Regions from separate parts of the Homo sapiens genome. Here region 2 is linked to region 1. The links are contacts of gene promoters, found by promoter capture Hi-C in human tissues and cell types (Jung and others, 2019). All regions are on one chromosome and are shown on one strand. Each heading gives the region's core, a stretch centred on a gene start or on the middle of the fragment in contact. The rest is flanking DNA. Distances are from core to core; before and after follow the strand shown.

What was found. Contacts are between HindIII fragments. The study calls those that stand out against the background at their distance.
Region 2: a fragment that was not itself captured here is called in contact with the fragment with the promoter of DYRK4 in region 1 in 1 of the 25 tissues and cell types used here (hippocampus).

What each region holds. Positions count from the first base shown.
Region 1 is chr12:4,560,212-4,563,935 of GRCh38, reverse strand. DYRK4 (dual specificity tyrosine phosphorylation regulated kinase 4) reads right to left here and starts at 1,728. Exons shown (of 15, transcript NM_001394779.1): 1 at 1,653-1,728. The coding sequence starts at 1,690. RefSeq lists a silencer at 1,599-1,893. The HindIII fragment of the contact is 2,169 bases long and covers 1,275-3,443 here.
Region 2 is chr12:4,848,128-4,851,851 of GRCh38, reverse strand. It overlaps a transcript of KCNA6 not described here. Among named protein-coding and RNA genes, the nearest start is that of KCNA6-AS1, 19 kb to the right of the region's middle. The HindIII fragment of the contact is 3,240 bases long and covers 107-3,346 here.

The sequences.
Region 1 (3,724 bases), core at 479-2,978:
GCAACCCATTTCACACTCAACTGTTAATTTACATAGGGTTGGTACTTGATATTTCTTGGAAGAATAAACTATATTGAGCAAAATTTCCTCCACTGATCCTTGCTATCCTCTGCAGAGTACCAAGGAACAAATCTATCTCTTTTCTACTCAAGAGTTCTTGAATGTTCAAAAGTTGAGTAGAAAAAAGCTTTCTCTCCCTTGCATCTCCTCATCTCCAGGCATTCTGTGAAGTTTTTTCAAACCTCTCTTCATGTGATGGCACACCCAGGCCTGACAGAGAGAGCCTGCCTTGTGGTTGTTCCTATTTTCCAGTTCTTTGTGATCTCAAAGTAGCTACAGTTTCTAGAGTCTGGATTATGTTCTACTCATTGCTAAGTCAGGCAGCACGACCATATTCTTTGATGTGGTCATTGCATTTCTATGAATGCAGCCTCCACCAGCATTTGCTCTTTGGGGAGCCATCACAACACACTCACGATGGGCTTAGAGTCAGCTAAAACCACTAAATCCCAGCACTGGGTCCTCCACACGCTTGAGGACTATGCATTCTAGCCAAGTTGCAGGCAACAATATGTGGAGTTGGAGAGGGCAAAGTCAGGGAAGAGTGGCTGGCATATTGCTAGAGAGTCCCTTCCGATTTACCTCTGCTTTCTCCATAAGGACCAAAACAAACAAGAGAAACAACAGATTTAAGTAACAGAAACAATAAGGTAGAGTGCATGTTTGAAGAATTTCTTCGAACTCCTAGGTTTTACATACCGACCACATGTAGGTGATCAAATCGCTCAAGCAAGACAAAGGACATTTTCATTTGTTGTTTCCACGGTTTGAACTTTTCCACTAAATGGCCTCCTGCTTTTGCCGAGTCTCCACTTAAGCCTGGACAGTGAAGCTTGAATTAATATTGGTGATGCTGTCCGTTGCTTAAGACATGTCAGAGGGGTCACGGTTTTCCTAAGCTTTGAGGGGCTGCTGGACATTTCAAATGCAGCAAATGTCACAGAATAGCCTTTAAAAACCCTCAAATTGTGCATTGTTCATCTCTTTTTTAAGGAAAGATTTGCTAATATTGGGAATTTCCTGAGTGGCAGCTCTGGGTGTGTGATCTACACACACCTTCGCGCGCTTTTGTGTCAGGGGCTGGGCCCTGGTTGAGCACAGAGGTGCCCGGGCATATGGGCTGGGTGGGAACATGAGTAATGCCTGCCAGAGCCTCATCCACGCGAGGCGTGTGGTCGTGGACCCACTTACGACTACCAAGAGGACATGCAGTAAAGAAGAGAAAGAAAGGGAGGAAGAAAGTCTGGCGTCCCAGTGAGGGCTGGAAGCACAGTTCCAGGATAGGTCTGCTGAGTTCCTCAGAACCCCTCGCTCCCTGTCCTGCACTCAGCTGGAGTCGCCGATGCGACAGCATCTTAACATGGAAGTATACTGACGTCGGATTCCGGGGATGCAGCTGCTGCAAAAACTACAACTGTATTTTCTTGTCCGCGCACCACAGCCCGCCTCTCTCTGACCCACATTCCCCGGTCAGCTCTTGCATTCTGCACGCTTTTCATTCTCCCCCCACGACCCCGTCGACCAGAAGCTTCGTCGCCTGCCTCGTACTCGCGCCTGACTGCTCGTGAAGTACGAGCCTCCGCGGCCCTTACTTTGTTCCGGTGCGGATAGGCGGCGGGAGGAGCTGCATGAGGCCGGCGCTGACCGCCCGCCGCTGCGGGAGGCTGTGAGAGCCCGGCAGAGGGCAAGGGACGGCCACGCCCTCCTCCCGTCGCTATAGAAACGGCTCCCGCCCTTTTTATGACTCCAGAGCTGGAAGGGCTTTCTCAGGCTGTGGTCCCAAACCACCTTGCAGAGTAGCAGCCTGAAGAACATACTCCTCGTCCTCCTACTCGCATTCTCTTGCCCCAGTTCTTTAAAGTATAGGGCAAGAATTGAACAAAATCCCAGCATAAAGAACTTAAAGTTGGTTGCCCAGACCGGACACATGAAATTATCCCTACTCTCTCCCCTTCTTCAAGCGAAGCATGTGGTTATCAGAATTACATCACAGAAGTTCTGGCCGGGCGCGGTGGTTTTACACCTGCAATCCCAGCACTTTGGGAGGCCTAGGCAGACCACTTGAGGTCTGGAGTTCGAGACCAAACTGCTCAAAGTAGTGAGACCCCCCCGCCCCTGTCTCTATTTAGACATTTTTTTCTGTAATCCCAGCACTTTGAGAGGCCAAGGCGGGTGGATCACGAGGCCAAGAGATCAAGACCATCCTGGCCAACATGGTGAAACCCCGTCTCTACTAAAAATACAAAAATAAGCGGGGCGTGGTGGTGCGTGCCTGTAGTCCCAGCTACTTGGGAGGCTGAGGCAGGAGAATCGCTGGAACCCGGGAGGCGGAGGTTGCAGTGAGCCGAGATCGCGCCACTGCACTCCAGCCTGGCGACAGAACGAGACTGCATCTCAAAAAAAAAAAAAAAAAAGAAAAAAAGAAAAAGAAAAAGAAAAAAAGTAAGTACATAGCAAAAGTTCTGGGTAAAATCCATATATCAGCTGAACACTTTTTGAGTGCTTACTCTGCACCAGATTGTAGAAAGCATGAAAAGGGAAATTTGTAATTGAGTGGCAGTAGGTTGACCTGGAGGTGCACAGTCTGGTCCAGGCAGAAAAGACATTCAAATGAAGCTTTCTGAAAGAGCTGAGTTGAATCTGAGTCTTCAAGGACAGGCAGTAGTTGTCTACGTAAAGGAGGCAAGTCCTATTCTGAAGGCCAGAGCCATAGAAAAGCTTGGTACCATTGTGCCAGCACCCAGTTTAGTGGGGCAGGGATCAAAGTTGCACGTGGGCAGAGACAAGGTTGAAGCAGCAGGAAAGGGGGAGTCAGACACCAAGTAGGCTATGAACTCGACCAGGGTAAGGTGTGTATGTGCAGACTGCAGAGGGGTGTTCATGCTGACTTTATTTTATAAAACCCTCTGTGGCAATAACAATGGAAGTAGGCCCGAGTAGGTTAAGAATCAAGGCAAGGATGCCTGTTAGAAATAGTGAGTGATGATGTTTCAGAGTAAGGGAGAGCACATGGAAGAGTAGTTTTGAGAAATTTAGGAAATGGAGTAAGACTTGGTGACTGGATGTGAAAGTCGAGAGAAGACTCAATCCCAGGATGACACCTTTGGCACCTGCAGTGATGGTGGTGCCATTCATTTACCAACAGAAAACACAGGAGAGATGTCAGGGGTAGGAGGAGACGTTGAATTTAACAACTGATCTGCTACATCAAATTGTCAGTGGACCATCCACAGGTTCTGTTGTCAAGAGCATGGTATAGGGTACAGACCCTGACTTGGCAGTCACTGTCACATAAGTGACCCCTGGAGTTTGCATAGAACATGAAACTGGTAAGACAAGTAGGTAAAGGTGACACAACAGATTAGAAAGCTGCAAAATAATGAAGAGTAGGCATGGAGATGGGAAGAAATGACAAAGAAATGTGTCACATGAGCCAAGGAAATCAAATGTTTTCATCAGAGTATAATGAATAGGGTGTATAAGATTAGGTGAGAAAATTGTACACTGGGTTTGGCAACATAAAGGTATCAGTGCTTTCAGCCAGGCTGGTTTTAACATACTTTGAGGTAATTTTCAAATCCCCTGATAAACTATAAAGAACACGGCAAAAACAGGTTATTGAGCTGGTGCCAGATGATTAATCAATTATATCAGTACCTAATAT
Region 2 (3,724 bases), core at 477-2,976, 290 kb before region 1:
CTCTGCTAGACACATGGCGAAGGCTACGGTCCCTGCTGTCCAGACTTCTGCAGCAACGTCATGAAGCCCCAGCACTCAGGACAATCTGGGAGGGTGTGGGCATTAAAGCAACCTGGAGCCTCAGCAACACCTCATTAGGAAACAAAATTCCACACAAGAAAATCATCCTAGTCCTTCATTTTGTCAGGAAGTGGAAAAGATACGTGAATGAGTGACTAGCAGTGGGAATGTCCCCCACCAGAGATCCTAGAAGAGTGCAAGGGCTTGTTTGATTGTTAAGAAGTAGCATTACCCCCTTCCACTGAGGACAGGCCAAGAGAGAACAGCTGTCAGTTGCAAGAACAATGCGGGTGACTAGAAAGAACATCCTTACTGTTACCTGGGAGACCCCGCACACAGCATCATCTGGCCTCTGGGAAGTCCATGTAAAAAAATAACTCTGCCCTTGATATTTGCCCACTCGTGTGTCTATCAGAGGCAGATAACTCTTAGATCATGGGTTACGCATCTTACTTTCTTGCAGAATGTCCCCTATCTGTGGGCCGGCTCATGGCAGAGGGTGATCAAGCCCTCTTCCTGGTGATCTATGTGTGGCCATCACATCCTCCTGTGTAGTGAGGATGCCCAGCAAGCTGCAGGTGCTCTGAATTTTGGATCCCTGCCTACTCTTGTGGAGACCGCTTGGCTTGTCTGCCTAACTTGGCCGTCGACGTTTTCTCATGGCATAATGCACAGCCTCTGAGACTTTGCCTTGTGTTTATTTGCCATTCTTCCACAGCCACCCTTGTCCTGGGGGGGTCTGCAACATACCCATGCACCTCCCGGAATCCCCTGACCACCCCATAGCTGGTCTCTTTGCTCACACCACCAGCTTTCACCCTGTTCCTACAGCTTCACCCCAACATTCTGGGCCCCATCTTTAGGGACAACGGGTCTGGTCTCAACTTTTTCTGGCTTGGTTGCTGCTTGTGGGAGGCCTCCAGAGCGGTGTCAGGCCAGATGCCTGCCAGCGGTGCCAGGCAGGGTTCTCGTCTTCTGAAGAAGTTGAGGGTCCAGCTGCTGTCAGAATTCTATGCATAGATGTCCTTGCTTGCACCACCTGCCAGCATTTTTCCTGCCAGGGAGGAACCAGAACAAAAGGACATGTAGTTAGTGATATGAGGTTGTGTCGCATGAGGGATGGAACTGAGAAACCTGGACACACCAGTGTCCTTCCTCACCCCGCTGGCATTTGCCTAGTGAGCTCCTACCGAGTCCCCATCCTTAGGTGCTCTGGTCTGTTCAAACTGTACCTCCCACTGCCACCCACTGAACTCCAGCAACTAATCAGTGACTATGAGCTTGTACAACCTGAAGCCATTTCTGCCCGTGTTGTCCTTAATACTGCTGTCATTAATACTCCACCTTTAATGGCCCCTGAGTCCCTCTAGAGTCAAGTCCAAGCCATGTGCCTGACTTCCAGGCCCCAGAAGGCACAGTCTCATCTGATCTATCCAGCTGCTCTCACTGCTCCCTGACACCTCCCACCATCCACATGGTCGAGGGGTCCCCCTCTCGGACCCTCAGCCTGCACCAGCGTCAGGCGCGTTCCTCTCTCCCTGAAAGAGTTCCTGCCACCACCTGGCTCCTCCTTACCCCGCCCCTACCATGCCGGAATGTTCTCGAGTCTCCTTCCCACAATGCTGAGTCCAGTCCCTCTAGGCCCGGCTGAACCCCCACCTCCAAGAGCCCCTTTGGCTGTCCCCTGCGTGACTGATCTCTCTGCTGCCTTTACCATCTGGCCCACACTCTATTGCAAAGCCTGTGAGATGTGCTGCCCGAAGTCCTGTGTTTAACATCCGCCTCTGCCGTGGCCTGGGCAAAGTTAAACTCCTCACTTGTCATACCTGACACAATGCGTGTGTCTCTGTGACTACCACAAAGCACTCCAAGGGCAAGCCAGCGTAGCCAAACAAACCAGCAATCATTGTCATTTCTGTTTCTGCACGTGAAACGGAAGCAACGACAACAAGGTGTTTGTGAAACTGCTTTGGAAAAGGTAAATAAGGTTTCCATAAACTCCAGTTGGTATCATGATTGTGCCCATGCAATAGATTTCTGCAGAAGGAAAAGACTTCATATTTGTAATTTAAATCATTTGGGAGCAAGCCCAAAGGTCCATAACATGGAGTAACTTGTAATCTTACTCAAGCACAAATTTAACTGTAAAGCCTGGTGCTCAGGACAGCAGTTTGCCTGGTGACAGTCACTGACTGTCTGGCGTCAGACTCACAAGGACATTGCCCAGAGGCTTCCTGCTGGCTTCGTCAGGGTGCAATAGCTCTTGCAAAGTGGTAAAAAAAAAAAAAAAAAAAAAAAAAAAGAGCAAAAATCTCTGTGTGAAATTCCAGTGGCCATCAGGTGAAAGGTAACACCTTAGCAAATGGTCAAAGTTTTCTTTGGTTGTTTCAAAGGGAAATGAACAGAAAGCTCATTGCTCTTCCCACACACATGTGATTCAGGAAAAGACTGTACAGGCACTTTTGCGTTCATAAATGTGGAGTTGTGTCAGGTGCCTGAACACAAGTTCCAAACGCTACGGGTCATTAGACTCAATTCTCCTGCTATGAATGTAAATTAAACATCATAAGCTTTCTCCCTGGACTGCTCTATGGCGCCACCTACAGCATGTTCTTAGGGAATGCACCGTAATTTTTTATTTTATTTTATTAATTTTTATTTTATTTTTATTTTTTGAGATGGGGTCTCGTTCTGTCGCCAGGCTGGGTGCAATGGCGATCTTGGCTCACTGCAACCTCCGACTCCCGGGGTTCAAATGATTCTCCTGCCTCAGCCTCCCGAGTAGCCGGGATTACAGGCGCCCGCTACCACACCCGGCTAATTTTTGTATTTTTAGCAGAGACGGGGTTTCACCGTGTTGGCCAGGATGGTCTCAATCTCGATCTCCTGACCTCGTGATCCGCCTGCCTCCGCCTCCCAAAGTGCTGGGATTACAGGCGTGAGCCACTGAATGCACCGTAATTTTTATATAAGCCCAAAGAAAACATTACTGGGGAAGTCCATCTGATCTAGAGTTTAAAATGGCTGATTAAAAAGTTGGGATCAACTCGACCAACATGGAGAAACCCCGTCTCTACTAAAAATACAAAATTAGCCGGGCGTGGTGGTGCATGCCTGTAATCCCAGCTACTCGGCAGGCCGAAGCAGGAGAATCGTTTGAACCTGGAAGTCGGAGGTTGCGGTGAGCCGAGATCGAGCCATTGCACTCCAGCCTGGGCAACAAGAGCAAAACTCCATCTCAAAAAACATTTTTTTAAAGTTGGATTTTTTTTTTTTTGCTCCCTCCTGAAACCCTACAAAAATAACAGTGTAGGAAAATTTTACGGAGGAGAGAGGAGGTAAATTACATAGACAAATAAATCAGAATAGTGGATGAAAATATTAAAAGCCAATTTGCAGATGATGGAAAGCCCCTGGAGAAATAGCATTTTACTTGGGAGGGGGCAAGATTTAAAGCCTGAGTCCCTGCTGATGTCAGTGAGATACAACCTGATTTACCCCCAGGAACCTATAAAGGCTCAGGAGTTGAGGGTGTCAGTTGACAGAAGCAGGGTTGAGGGGCAGAGCTAAAAACTGGTTGCAGGTGGACACACCTTTTCAGGTCTCCTTTGCAACCTCACAAAGCCAAGCACCTACTCATCCCACCACCTTGTCAAAAGATGTA